4 separate regions of the Homo sapiens genome follow, and regions 1, 3 and 4 are each linked to region 2. Evidence: promoter capture Hi-C in 16 types of primary human blood cells and fetal thymus (Javierre and others, 2016). All regions are on one chromosome and are shown on one strand. The core of a region is centred on a gene start or on the middle of the fragment in contact, and the rest is flanking DNA. Distances in the headings are between cores, read along the strand shown.

Region 1 (3,356 bases), core at 136-2,635, 2.9 Mb after region 2:
TGCAATGGCTCACGCTTATAATCCCAGCACTTTGGGAGGCCGAGGTGGGCGGATCATGAGGTCAGGAGTTCGAGACCAGCCTAGCCAACACAGCGAAACCCCGTCTCTACTAAAAATACAAAAATTAGCTGGATGTGGTGGCAGGCGCCTGTAATCCCAGCTACTTGGGAGGCTGAGGGAGGAGAATCGCTTGAACCCGGGAGGTTGCAGTGAGCTGAGATTGCACCACTGCACTCCAGCCTGAGTGACAGAGCGAGACTCTGTCTCAATAAATAAATAAATAAATACCCTTATGATTACATTGAACCCACCCAGTAGTTCAAGATAACCTCCCTACCTCAGGATCCTTCCTCACATCTGCAAAGTCTCTTTTGTCATGTAAAGAAACATATTCACAGGTTCCAGGGAGTAGGACGTGGAGATCTTTTGGGTGGCATTATTCTGCCTCCCACAAGGGATGCCACTATGCCTAGCCTGTCCCCAGAGCAGAAACCGATGGAGGAATCTGCTTTGGAAGTATGGGAACACAAGCTCCAGAAAGAAAAATAAAAGGCAAATGGATGTAAATTAATAGACAGGCATTTTATGGTGAATCAGAAGGAATTTCTTTTTCTGAGGAGGATCAAGGAGCATGTTGAGGATTTACAAAATGTGGGAAAGCCACCAACTAAGGAAGAAAAAGCAGACTGCTTCCCTGAGGGTTTGTTTGAGATGGGAAGAGTTACCTGGGAAAGACTGTGCTCCAAGGTCACACCAATTACCACGTGCATGAAGATTATACTCAGTTCAGCTCCAAAATCACCATCTACATGTTTATTTCAAACTTTGCAAACAAACCAAACAATGACATCAGAATTAAAATGGTTCCACCACCTCCCTGTTCTTATGCCATTGTTTTTCTTTTTCCATGATTCCTGTAAGAAACCTGACACTAATTAAGCTAGTGCAAGAAGAAGAAGAAAAAGAAGATGAATCTTCCACCACACTGGAGATAACCCAAGAAGTAAGAAAAACTGATCTCTACCCAAAAAGGACAACAATGGTGAAAGACTGCATTTGCAACGGGGGTAATATACTCAGAGTTTAAATTTCCGAAAGGACAAACAAAACATGGAGAGTCTAATGAGATCTTCCAGCTGCTTCTCTCTGCTAAGGTATTTCCCCTGGCAACAGCTAGGGAAGCTTGGGTGTATTTTCCCCTTGCTGTGTCATATGATGTTCCTTTCCCTACCCCCACCTCCTCCAGACTGCTGCCTCCATCAGTGCCTGTGGCGTGTGTGTGTGTGTGTGTGTGTGCGCGCGCGTGCGTGCACGTGTGTATGTGTGTGTGTGTGTATTGGGTTTCTCTCTCCCTTGTAAGAACACAGCCAGCCCGCCCTCTCCTGCTGTTGCTGCAGCTCTGACTTGCTTTTTCCTGCCTCCTTCCTCTCCTCTCTCTTCTTGCTTAGCTTCTTGCCTTCTGGTAAGTATGACAAACACTCCCCCAAGCCCTGTGAGAAGGTATAGGGTGCGGTTTGTGGTGTTCGAAACTTGCAACTTTGAGATTGCCAGTGAACTGTTGGAGAACTTTTCATTGTTGTATTTATAAATAAAATGTGTTGCTTAGGGAGGGATGTGTCTGTGATAGTCATCTGGAATAGCCAACACAAGTGAAAAGTTCTCTCCCTGGGGAGGGGAAAATAAGGCAATAAAGTTTATATAAGATAAAAGTTAGAAATAATTTCTTTGCCACATAATATAAAATGGATGATTGAAAAGTAACAAAGTTCTCTGACTTTGTTTTTTTCCCTCTTGTTAACTTGTCTTGAGGCTACTTTTGGGAATTGAATTGTCCTGGGCTTTATAATGACTGTTCTGTTTTAAAGTAAATGTGGAACAGGAGTTTAAAGAATAGCCATGGAATTAAGAATTTAAAAAATCAATGATTGTGGCATCTCATGAAGAATAAATCAAATACAAACAGCCACTTGCATTTAGACTAACCGAAGTAAAACTCCTATGGACAGCTTATCTTAAATTAATTATTTTGAAGTTCATTTTACTTGAGATTTTATTTCATCCTAAGATAGTCTCCCCGACTTTAAAACCCATGTATGGATTTAAGCCACTAAATGTTTACTGTTTTCAATTTGACTGAAAAACGATTCTCTTGATTTTCAAGGATGAAGTGCTAAACGGCATGACTCATTTTAGAATAGCTTAAAATAACTTCTGGCTGGACAGCAGGTGCCGTGTGTCTTTCTCCGTGTTCAGGGGAGGCCTAAGTTATATATAGATGAGTGCAATCAACAAGTGAGGTCAGGAAAAGAAATCCCAGTGATGAAAATAATGAAACTGCTGCATTATTTGATAATCAAGTTGGTGAATTCAAACCAGTGAAAGAAAAAAAGTACTTCCTCTAAGTTATGAGTGTTTGGTGAGCATCACAAGTCAGTGGCAACATCTGTGTGTTGAATTTTCTGTTCTTGTTGGTGTCTGAGCATTCAATTGACATCTACTGCCCTGAGAACAGGAAAAGGAAGCTGTGCAGTTGTAGAACAGTATGCTTTTGTTTTCACTTTCATGTTACCACAACAGCAAAACCTGTGAATTATGAGGATCTTGCCACATTTTTATGCTGCTATTTAGCAGCATCACTGTTAAATATTATTTACAAATAAAATGCACCATAACTTAAAGGCCTAAACCAAATCTATTGCAACTCTAGAAGTGGTAATAGTCAGAAACCCTGGAATCTCTGACTCAGTACCATCTCTCACCCTTTCCTAAGGGCCCTTATTATTGCTGAATTATTTCTCGAGTTGGTCTCCTCCTTGTTTATGAAACATTGCTACTTCTTAAAAATCATTAAGTTTTTCTAGAGCTTCCTGACTTAGAAGAGAAAGTTGTAATCTGTTTTTCTCTTTTAAAAAATTGGTTTATATATTGGAATAAAAGAGTATTATAGAAATTTAAGGAATTGTTGTTATAAGTATCATCATGCTTTTGTTTTGTTTAGTTTTTGAGACGAAGTCTTGCTCTGTCACCCAGGCTGGAGTGCAGTGGCACGATCTTGGCTCACTACAGCCTCCGCCTCCCAAGTTCAAGCAATTCTCATACCTCAGCCTCCCAAGTAGCTGGGACTACCGGTGCCCGCCACCACACCTGGCTAATTTTTGTATTTTTAGTAGAGACAGGGTTTCACCATGTTGGCCAGGCTGGTCTCCTGGCCTCAAGGATCCACCCGCCTCGGCTTCCTAAAGTGCTGGGATTACAGACATGAGCCACAGCACCTGGCCCGTGTTTCCATACTACTTTGTCTATTTATTTATACCTTCCCTCATTCCCTGTCTTAATCTAAAAATGATGCCAGTTTA
Region 2 (3,276 bases), core at 499-2,998:
TTTGTCACAAAGATACATGATACAGGGATCGGGAACAGGAATTTCCTTTAGGGATGAGAGATTCTTTGACCTTATCCCATCACTCCCAAGCCCCATCCACTCCAGTCACAATAGTCTACTTACTCCTCCTTCCAGCAAGCCTCTACTTCGGGACTTTTATAACCTCTATGGAGAATACTCTTTCCCAGATGGTGCAAGGTATGCCTTTCACTCTTTTATTTCCCCAAATGTCAATTCAGTGAAGTGTTCCTGACCACTATGAAACTGAAATCCCATCTGCACTCCCTGCCACCACTACTCCTGATACTCTTATTCCTTTTCCTTGCTCTATTTGTCTTCATAAGCTTTTAATACTCTATGTATGATAGACTCTATATTGTTGAAACTCTCTACCTCCATTGTATGTAAGCTCCAAAAATGCAGCAAATGTAGTCACAGCGCCTACTAATGCTTGATACAAAGGTAGCTCAATGAACACATACTGAATGAATATGGACCCTGCTTGAGGAAACTGAAGAACAAGTATAATAAAAATGATGCTGTAAAATTTGAACAAAATGAAGTAATGCACAGAGAATAATCAATTTGCTGCCCACAGAAGTGGTGACATTTGGGTTAGATCTTGAATCATGAGTTTGCCAAGTGCAAGAAAAAGGTGCACATTCCAAGAGAGTGGAAGATGGTAGGTCTGAAAAGGCCTTGCACATTTGAGAAACAGGGTACATTTGGAGTATGGCAGAGATAACAGTGACCAGATTTTAGCTAACCTTACAATATACACAACAATGGACGCATTATATCCAACTTCTCAACTCTAAATATCCTTTTCAGAATTATAATTGTCCAGTTACTTGTTTTATTTGCAGTAAAGTTAAGAGTACAGAATACAAAATAAAGTTAACACAGAATTACTGGCACTCCCTTTACTCACTACAAGTTTGAGCAGAGTTAACCTATATTTTTTTTAATCAAACTGTAAATTCAACGTATAACACTCAAAGTGAAAATACTGCTTTCAAAGGTCTCAACAGCGGGTATTATTCAAAGAAGTCAAAACTAAAAATTCTGCATGGTAGGAGAGAGCAGCTGGGTGGGGAAAGGTCAAATTCAACTGCTTATTTAGTAGCAGATACTCCCCATTTAACCAAATGAGTTTCTGATTGGGCTTGCATGCTGTCATAAATAATATTCACTTATTACTATGTTTTCAACTAGTCTATCGTCCTTTTATCCACATCACTCCTTCTTTCGGACACTCACCTTCGTTTTAAACCTAACTCAATTTATTTTCAGGATTCCTATTTGAGACAAGAAGCTCTTGTGTGTACACACACAGAGAAAACCTTGGAAGATTATATTCCACAGTTCAAGAGCCTGTGTAGTCAGTACTGGAGCATTTAAGCACAAGATAGGAGAAGCAGTGGACACCATGGTGTTTTGGGATTCCTACTGCCAGGGGGTGGGAACCCAGGGAGTTCCCTGGGTAGGCTCGAGGTCAAAGCTCAGGTTTAAAGCGAGGGGGGCGGGGCATGCCCCAAGAACCTCAGGGAGGTGTGTGGGCCCTAAAATGCAACTGGGAAAGAAAGGGCGCGGCCACTCGGAAAGACTCACAGTAATAAGCCACCACAGGGTCTCGCTTGTCATGCTCCTGAGCCGTCCTCAGATGATGCTGTATGCTCTTGAACTGTGCGGGGAGCGGGGGCAGCGGTGCAAGCGCGGCCATCTCTACTCCGAACTCACCACTTCCTACTCGCGCTCCACCGGCACTTCCGCTTCCGTCTGGGCGGTAGCGCGCACGAGCGTTCAGAGCAAATGCTGCCCACTCTTCCGTTGCTCAGCGACGTCAAGTCAACTACGGATCCCCAGCTGGGACAACCTCAGGGTGCTTGGCTCTCGGCGGTTAGAACCCACAGAAGACCCGAGCATTTTGGCGCTTATGCCGCGCATGGCGCTAGCGCTCTCTGCTGGTAGGAGGAAGGGTTTTTGTTTTGTTTTGCTTTTTTGTTTGGTTTGTTGTTTGTGGCAAAAGGAAGGATAGAAAAGGAAAAACAAGAAAATAATGTATGTTGACTGGGAGAAAGTATAAAGGCGAGAATTGCCTTTGGCGTCATTCAGGAATTACCACTTCCAGTTAATATGCCACATTAATATTCCATATAGCAGTGTCCTTTAGAAGCCTTTTTGATTTTAGAAACTTTAATTTCAATACTTGCATGAGAGAGAAATAATGTGTTTAAATTGTAAATTAAATTTTTCTATGTTGACATACTGGATAAAATAATCAGATTTCGCGCCAAATTAAGCTAAACATATGAAGCTTAAAGAAGATTGAACTTTTGTTCTCAGCTGGCTAGTACGTATTTTAGTGAATGAATAATCTGTAGATCACCTTTTTTTTTTCTGGAGAGTGATTAACAATTTGTAAAGTATTTTCATATTTATTATCTTGTCTTAATGTAAGATAGGGTGTTTGGGACGTTTTCAACGCTGGTAACTCTTAACCATTGTACAGTAGGCATCACTTTTCCTTCTACCCTCAATGACTTCAATTCTCTTCCTCTCCTCTCCATCCCTTACTTATATCTTTCAGGACTGTACACTTTATTTACTTCCTCCAATAACCTTCTTTATTTTATCTCAGTCCTCAGTTTTGACAATTCATCTTAAAACTAGTTTTCACTGAAATCACACTATCCCCAAGAGCCAAAATCTCCAGCTCGGAAATTCCCCTCTGCCTACTATTTTCTGATCACTCTCTCACCCCCAGAAGAAACCGCTCCATGTCCTCATATTATCCCACTCCACATACGTTGCCTAGACCTATTTGCAAAGTCCATCATCTTATTCTGGGTCGGGCTTTTTTACTCAGCCTGAAACTCAGTTCTGTCTTCTTCCCCAATCTCAGCGGCATATTTCCTACCACTGGAGAATGTATGGTTTCTTTCTCTTTCTCTTACTCCCACTATTTGGACTTTCCAGTCAAAAGTTGCTAGATTGGTAGAGAAATCAATGAAGAAAAGCAGAGTTGGATAACCATAACTGTTTTCTTTCTATACTCACAACTTTTCATTTATTTGTTTCCTATTACTTCTTGATTCTCAACCGCAGCTGCCCTTAAAGATCAACTTTAAAGCCCACTCCAGGCATTCTCACTTAATTGTTCTAGGTGGGATCCTAAATGTCAGTATCTTTAAAAGGTCCTCATGTAATTTTAATGTTACGTCTAGGGTTAAGGACCAGTGCTGTAGTCCACAGATGGTGTTTCAAACTTCTCTC
Region 3 (3,270 bases), core at 174-2,673, 2.2 Mb before region 2:
CAGGGCTCCCAGGAGTGGTTTCCTGAGCAGTGGCAATTTCCAGACATGAGTCATCTGGGCCTTCATAGATGCCTAAATGGCCAGTCCCGCCTCCAAATTATTCATTTCACATTTTCAAGCTTGTTTTGAAACTTTGGTTTATCTCAGTTATATTATTGTTAGCATCTAGTGAAAATGATGATACAGCTGGATAAAGATAGAGATCGATAGATAGATAGATGATAGATAGATAGATAGATAGATAGATAGATGATACATAGATAGACAGAGAGATAGTGATAGAGATAGAGATCTATTTTTTTTTTAAACAGAGTCTCGCCCTGATGCCCGGGCTGAAGTGCAGTGGCGCAATCTCAGCTCACTGCAACCCCCGCCTCCCGGGTTCAAGCGATTCTCTTGCCTCAGCCTCCCAAGTAGCTGGGATTTCAGGCACCCACCACCACACCCAGCTAATTTTTGTATTTTTAGTAGAGACGATGTTTCACCACATTGGCCAGGCTCCTGGCCTGAACTCCTGACCTCAGGTGATCTGCCCGCCTCGGGCTCCCAAAGTGCTGGGATTACAAGCATGAGCCATTGTGCCTGGCTGAAAATATTATTTTTAACATTAAATTTAATGTCCTTATTTCTAACAAGATGACTAAAGAGCCTACACTATGGACACACACAAAAAAATCAGTTCAATAGCAACTGATGAGAGGAGAATCTAGGCCCTTGTGAAATTGGAAATCATGTACACATTGGTTTTCTATTTTTATTAAAATAACATGCACTGAAATACATTTTAATTTTAAAAATGCTATTTTCCTAAAGCCTTTTGATTGGTCATAGGGCAGGAAAGAATGTTATCTAAATGAACCAGAACTCAACCAGCACAGCATTTAAATATATTTAACACTGTAGCTACTCATTTAAAAGCCTGCTTTTTTATTTTATTTTTTTTTTTTTTGAGACAGAGTTTTGCTCTTTCACCCAGGCTGGAGTGCAATGGTGTGATCTTGGCTCACTGCAACCTCCACCTCCCAGGTTCAAGTGATTCTCCTGCCTCAGCCTCCCAAGTAGCTGGGATTACAGGCACGTGCCACCACGCCCGACTAATTTTTGTATTTTTAGTAGAGACAAGGTTTTACCATGTTGGCCAGGCTGGTCTAGAACTCCTGACCTCAGGTGATCCGCCTGCCTTGGCCTCCTAAAGTGCTGGGATTACAGGCGTGAGCCACCGCCCCCGGCCAAAGCCTGCTTATTATTTAAAGGTTTGTTTGTACTTTTCTTCTAGCTGTCTTCTGATTTCAATCATTAAGGTTACCCTAGACCCTTTGTAGCAAGACCCTTTGATGAAGACTAGCTGACCACAGAGACTCTTAATGGTGGGGAAAGAGAGAGGATTTAGTGACAATCAAAGGAAATCTTCGAAAGGCCACAAGCCTGCAATTGCTGCCCCTATGCAGGTTTTTGAGACAAGGTATCCCTCTGTTGTCCAAACTGGAATGCAGCGGCATGATCGTGGCTCACTAGTCTCAAACTCCTAGGTTCAAGCTATCCTCCCACCTCAGTCTCCTAAGTAGCTGGGACCACAGGCACATGCCACCATGCCTGGCTGATTTTTAAATTTTTTGTAGAGATGGAATCTCCCTGTGTTGCCCAGAGTGGTCTCGAACTCCAGGCCTCAAGTGATCCTCATGCCGCAGCCTCCCAAAGTGCTTGGATTACAGGTATGAGCCATTGTGCCTGGCCCGCGTGGAGTTTTAATTCAGGTCCCTGAGAGGTATTTTGATGTTGTGTTGGGATCACATGGTTATTTAAGAAAGAAGTAACAGTTAATGATGAGAATTGTAGCACACCAGTCTCCTATGCCACTTGTTCAAGAAACCCAATTCACTAAGAAAATATGGGCTGCTCCAATCATTTTGGTTTGAATTTGCTCTGCAGAGACAACGCTACAACCCCTTACCACCTCATTCACTGAAGCTAAGAAGGAAAACATTAAGAGGGAAAGAGTAATTCCACAAGAAAGGAAAACATTGAAAAAGAAAACCAACCAGTCTCAAAGTTTTTTCATAGTGACAACATTCATGCATGATATGTATGATCGAATAAAACACATCACTTGGGGTTTTTCCCCTCCAAAAGCTCATACAACCAGTACACACATGTATACATTAAACAAGATATGAACATCTAAACTGATCAGAAAAACTAAGTCACCCCGGAAGTAAACTTCAGCGAGAGAAAAGTGCACGACACTTTCCCTGCATGAAGTTATGCATATGCATGTCTCATAGACAAGCCTGCACTGAAACAGAAACCCCAGCACTCATACTGTCCCCCAAAGTACAAACGTTTTATTCTCCCCTTTCTCAGGTCAAAACTAAATATTTCAAGAAGTAAAATGCCTTTTTAGCCAACAGAGTAAATCAAATACAATATGGGATGAGGTCTACCAATACTCAACACCACAAAGGAGGCTTCTTCTCTAGATGGCAGTAAACAGCACAGAGTAAGCTATTTTGAAAATACAGGGAGGTAAAGTGAAGCATATTTGCTACCACAAATATAGGGATCCTGGAAGGCTTCTTCCAAAGAAACTAATAACTCTGGTGAATTATCACTTCCTGAAGAGAAGTGTGAAGCAGACAGCGTTGGTCTCTACTCTTGAGGGTCCACAACAGACGTGGCAGCAGGAAAGACAGGCTGTCTGTTCCCGTCACCAGCCTGGTCCTAAGCTTTGTTACTTAACAAAACTGAATGAAAGAACCCTGTCTTCATAGACGTTTCTTAAGAAAACCTCACTGGCTGGGAGTCGTGCAAGTTGACAAACTTACCTGGTAATCGCTTGCAAGCCTGGAGAGCTACATGCCCTGGCAAATCCAATCTGCACTTTTTCCAATGAAACGTGGTGGCTGCCAGGCCGCTCATCACCTACATCTGCTTAGATGATGAGGAAAAAGATGTGGAGGAAGTGGACAACAAAAGCAGCCTTCGAACTGCACACTGGGATGTCCTGTGTTATTTTGGGTTTTTTTTTTTTTTTTTTTTGGTGGCTTTTATTTTTCCCATGAGAGGATCTGACTAAACCTAACCCCACCTCCTCTAAACACCAGAGAGGAAGTTACACTTTGTAGTCAGTGAAAACTCCTTAGGCAGGTTTTTTGTTTTTTTAATAGTCACAACTAAGGGCCTCTATTCATGTTCCTATGACAGAGATTATAACTTTGCTTCCTGTTTTGACAGTATCAGCTGGGAAGGGGCACTCCACCCACCTCCCTACCC
Region 4 (3,281 bases), core at 352-2,851, 2.8 Mb after region 2:
TTTGACGGTATGAGGTTGGAAAGGTGGAGGGAAATATCCAGGAATGCAGAATGCAATTATCCACATTGGAATGTGACCAAGCCACCAGCCCTAATCTTGTGAAAGGACTGCAGGATCTTTAATGAGGATGAGTGTTGCTGTCTAATTGAGTCAGTAAAATTTACTTTAAAATAAACTGGGCAGATAACATTGTCTCCAAAAAATAAATAAATTTAGAATTCAAGGAATTTAAGACCCATGCCATTGGCAATTTTTTCCTCTGCAGTGGAAATGTTTTGCTAGCATGAAAGCAGCAGTACACCTCTTCAGAAATGCATGCTTCAGAGATGGTATTTATCATTTTGGGACTGCACCACTATCATCAAAATCAGCGCTCCCAGGCAGGTTGAGGCTGAGCCTCCAGAAGAGAACAATAGGTAGCACATCAAATGACTCAGCCAGTGAACCCCTATTATCATGGGCTCTGTTTGTCTTCTCCCCCTAGAATAGAAGGAACAATGGCAATGTCAGAATTTTAATTGCAATGGACTGGCTTAAATTACTTGACCTATTTTTATGCAGCAAGGAGAAAAATGATTCTTTTTTTTTCCTGGTAGCCATACTTTTAATTTAAACTGGAAAAGGAAATATAAGAATATTTTCCATCAAATAACATACTGCTGATAATTTTAGTTTGCCTTGTAGTGAGACCTACCTATATTTTAAAAAAATATTAAAACATCTGAAATAAAGAACTTCTTCCCTTCCCAGGAAGAAATTAAACTCATAAGTAATGCAGTAATGCTAAAGAGTGAGAAAATATTCTAAGAGCGGCTGGCGTGAATTTCTATCATATTTTGATATTTATACACAATGAAAGAAAAGCTATGATAAGTAAGAGTCTGTTGTGTTGAGGAACTGAATCCATGATCCTTGGGAAAGAGAAACTATCAGACCGACCTCTTCCATACTGTCTATGAACAAATAATGACTTTTTAGCGGCTGGATTCTTATCAGTTACTTCCTTCCCCTAGAGGAGCACTAAATGAAGCAGCCCCAGGAGGCAGTTAGTGGTGCTTTTTGAGAATTCAGCTTGGCTAAATCAGGACTTGCAGAGTGAGCAAAAAGCACATGAAAGAAAGATGGACGGTGAATATTATTACTTGCTTTATATGTTATTAGTTTTCATTAGGCTGAACTAATCTGAAAGATTAGTGAGGCAGGGGCACAACCAGGGGTGAGGACTGTGGTTCACGGAATTCTTGGAATTTTCCCATGGTATCACCATTGTGCTCAGCCCTGAAATCCCTCCCTTTCTTCCCTCTACAGTAGAGTGGTTACTTGATTACATTTTGGGTTGCTGAACAAAGCCGACAGGGGAATCTGTCTCCTGAGGAGCCTGTAGCAAGGCAAGGTTAGCGTGGTGCGCATTGCAGGAGATATGCAAATAGGCGAGTGGCTTTTGAAAAGTTAATAGTGCCCAAAGAATTCTGCCTGTCCATTCCTGAAAGCTGAGTGGGGAGCAAAATTAAGGCTTGAGTGCAAGTCAAACTAGCACAAAATCAGGAAAAGTCAGCCAACTCCAGATTGTCAGTACTGTTTTTATGAACACATGCTACAGTGAAGGAAATGGGATTGGAGGCTATTGAGGTCTTTTCTCTTTGGGTTTTCCTATGGATTGGTATAACATTTGGCCTTGTGATTTCCTTAGTCACTAGGCCACAGAATTTTATTGTTGTTAGTGGTGGTGGTTTATTCTCGTAACCCACTGGGTTTGGGGTTTGGTTTGGGTTCCGTTGGGTTTTTTGCTTCATGACAGTTGCTATCTCCTTAAAGCACATATAGTATACTTCAATTGTGCATACACATTCTTAGATCACCTTGTAAATATGGCCCCGTTGCATGTATTTTGGATAACTCTTGAAAGGAGGATAAGCAAGATGATGACCAGTTTCATACATCTCTCTTCACCCTATGTGTTTAGCAAACATAAGGACGATGAGGCCAGTAGGTGAAAAATGATTGAACTGACTGTTATGTTCCTAATATGAACTTAAATATCTAAATGTTTCTAAGATCCCCTTCTGACACCATTTTTTGGATCAATAGTTCTCAGCTGGGTAGAGGTACCTCTCAGGCTGGGGAGAAGGGAGAGAAAACAGTAACTTATAAAAACATATTCCATACTATATTTGGACAGATGTTTTAATACACATTCTTTTAGTAAAACAAAATGTAGAAAGACATTTCAAACTCTTATTATTTTTTTATTTATTTTGTTTGAGACAGAGTCTTGCTCTGTTGCCAGGCTGGAGTGCAGTGGCGCAATCTCAGCTCACTGCAACCTCCACCTACTGGGTTCAAGCGATTCTCCTGCCTCAGCCTCCTGAGTAGCTGGGACTACAGGCACGCACCACCATGCACAACTAGTTTTTTTGTATTTGTTGGCCAGGATGATCGCAATCTCTTGACCGCGTGATCCACTCACCTCGGCCTCCCAAAGTGCTGGGATTACAGCGTGAGCCACTGCGCCTGGCCTCAAAATCTTCTTGACTGATAGGGCATAGATTTTTAAATGGTAAGAAACACTGTTTAGACTGCATGGGATCAAATCGAAGAAATTTACCCTTCAATCAACATCTCTTAACAAATCTCTCTGTTGACCATAAGTTTCCTGTGGCTGCCTTGGTTGAGCACTTACTATGTGACAGATATTGTGGTAGGCACTTTACATACATAATCTCATTTAATGCTCACAATATGCTTGCAAGATTCATGATATTCTTCCAAATTTACATAAGGAAATTGACATTTAGAGAGGAAGTCAACTGCTCAAGGACAACACAGTAGCGGATAGAGGAGCAGAGTAGTTTCCAGACCTAGCTTCCGAGTCAGTGCTCTTTCTAAGACGCAGTGCTGCTGTGATAAACCAAATGACACCTATTCTTAAATGCCACTGATTGTAAAATGATCAATAAGTGATTAAGAGAAAAACCCATTACATTACATGAACACAAGTTCTAAAATATATGAACACAACTATACCATGTATTTATCCGTACAATCACACACCGTTTCCTTTTGGGATTCACAAGATTCGGGTCTACGCTTTTTCAAATTTGGTATAAAAATTCCTCCAAATTAAGTGTGACCCCTGAAAGTGCATGAGTAGCCTCATGGTGAGCTGCTTACCCCTTCTTAATATTTTGACCTCGTTAGCACTTCAAGTCAAATGAAAGAATATCAGTGATTTAAATTGCGGTTTCAGTTTTTTTTTCCTTAACTGAATTCCTTCTTGCTGG

What was found. The method cuts DNA at HindIII sites, captures the fragments that hold promoters and counts their contacts. A CHiCAGO score of 5 or more calls a contact.
Region 1: a contact is called between the fragment with the promoter of TXLNB here and the fragment with the promoter of VTA1 in region 2, in 6 of 17 cell types (total B cells, naive B cells, non-activated CD4 T cells and 3 more). The highest score is 11.6, in total B cells.
Region 3: a fragment that was not itself captured here is called in contact with the fragment with the promoter of VTA1 in region 2 in 1 of 17 cell types (activated CD4 T cells); the score reaches 6.1 in activated CD4 T cells.
Region 4: a fragment that was not itself captured here is called in contact with the fragment with the promoter of VTA1 in region 2 in 2 of 17 cell types (total B cells and fetal thymus); the score reaches 6.7 in total B cells.

What each region holds. Positions count from the first base shown.
Region 1 is chr6:139,290,027-139,293,382 of GRCh38, reverse strand. It overlaps TXLNB (taxilin beta), which reads left to right and starts at 1,385. Exons shown (of 10, transcript NM_153235.4): 1 at 1,385-1,462. All of the region lies in intron 4 of LOC102723690 (a long non-coding RNA gene), which reads right to left. RefSeq lists enhancers at 2,161-2,410, 2,611-2,670 and a silencer at 2,257-2,551. The HindIII fragment of the contact is 5,007 bases long and covers 1,185-3,356 here.
Region 2 is chr6:142,145,735-142,149,010 of GRCh38, reverse strand. It overlaps VTA1 (vesicle trafficking 1), which reads right to left and starts at 1,748. Exons shown (of 8, transcript NM_016485.5): 1 at 1,612-1,748. The coding sequence starts at 1,723. NMBR (neuromedin B receptor) reads left to right here and starts at 1,889. Exons shown (of 4, transcript NM_002511.4): 1 at 1,889-1,967. RefSeq lists enhancers at 1,047-1,567, 1,822-1,961, 1,725-2,019. The HindIII fragment of the contact is 1,973 bases long and covers 347-2,319 here.
Region 3 is chr6:144,343,857-144,347,126 of GRCh38, reverse strand. All of the region lies in intron 2 of UTRN (utrophin), which reads right to left. Among named protein-coding and RNA genes, the nearest start is that of UTRN, 60 kb to the right of the region's middle. RefSeq lists enhancers at 1,092-1,592, 1,593-2,093. The HindIII fragment of the contact is 2,604 bases long and covers 122-2,725 here.
Region 4 is chr6:139,365,987-139,369,267 of GRCh38, reverse strand. No RefSeq gene overlaps it. Among named protein-coding and RNA genes, the nearest start is that of CITED2, 7.0 kb to the left of the region's middle. RefSeq lists an enhancer at 1-449. The HindIII fragment of the contact is 4,905 bases long and covers 1-3,281 here.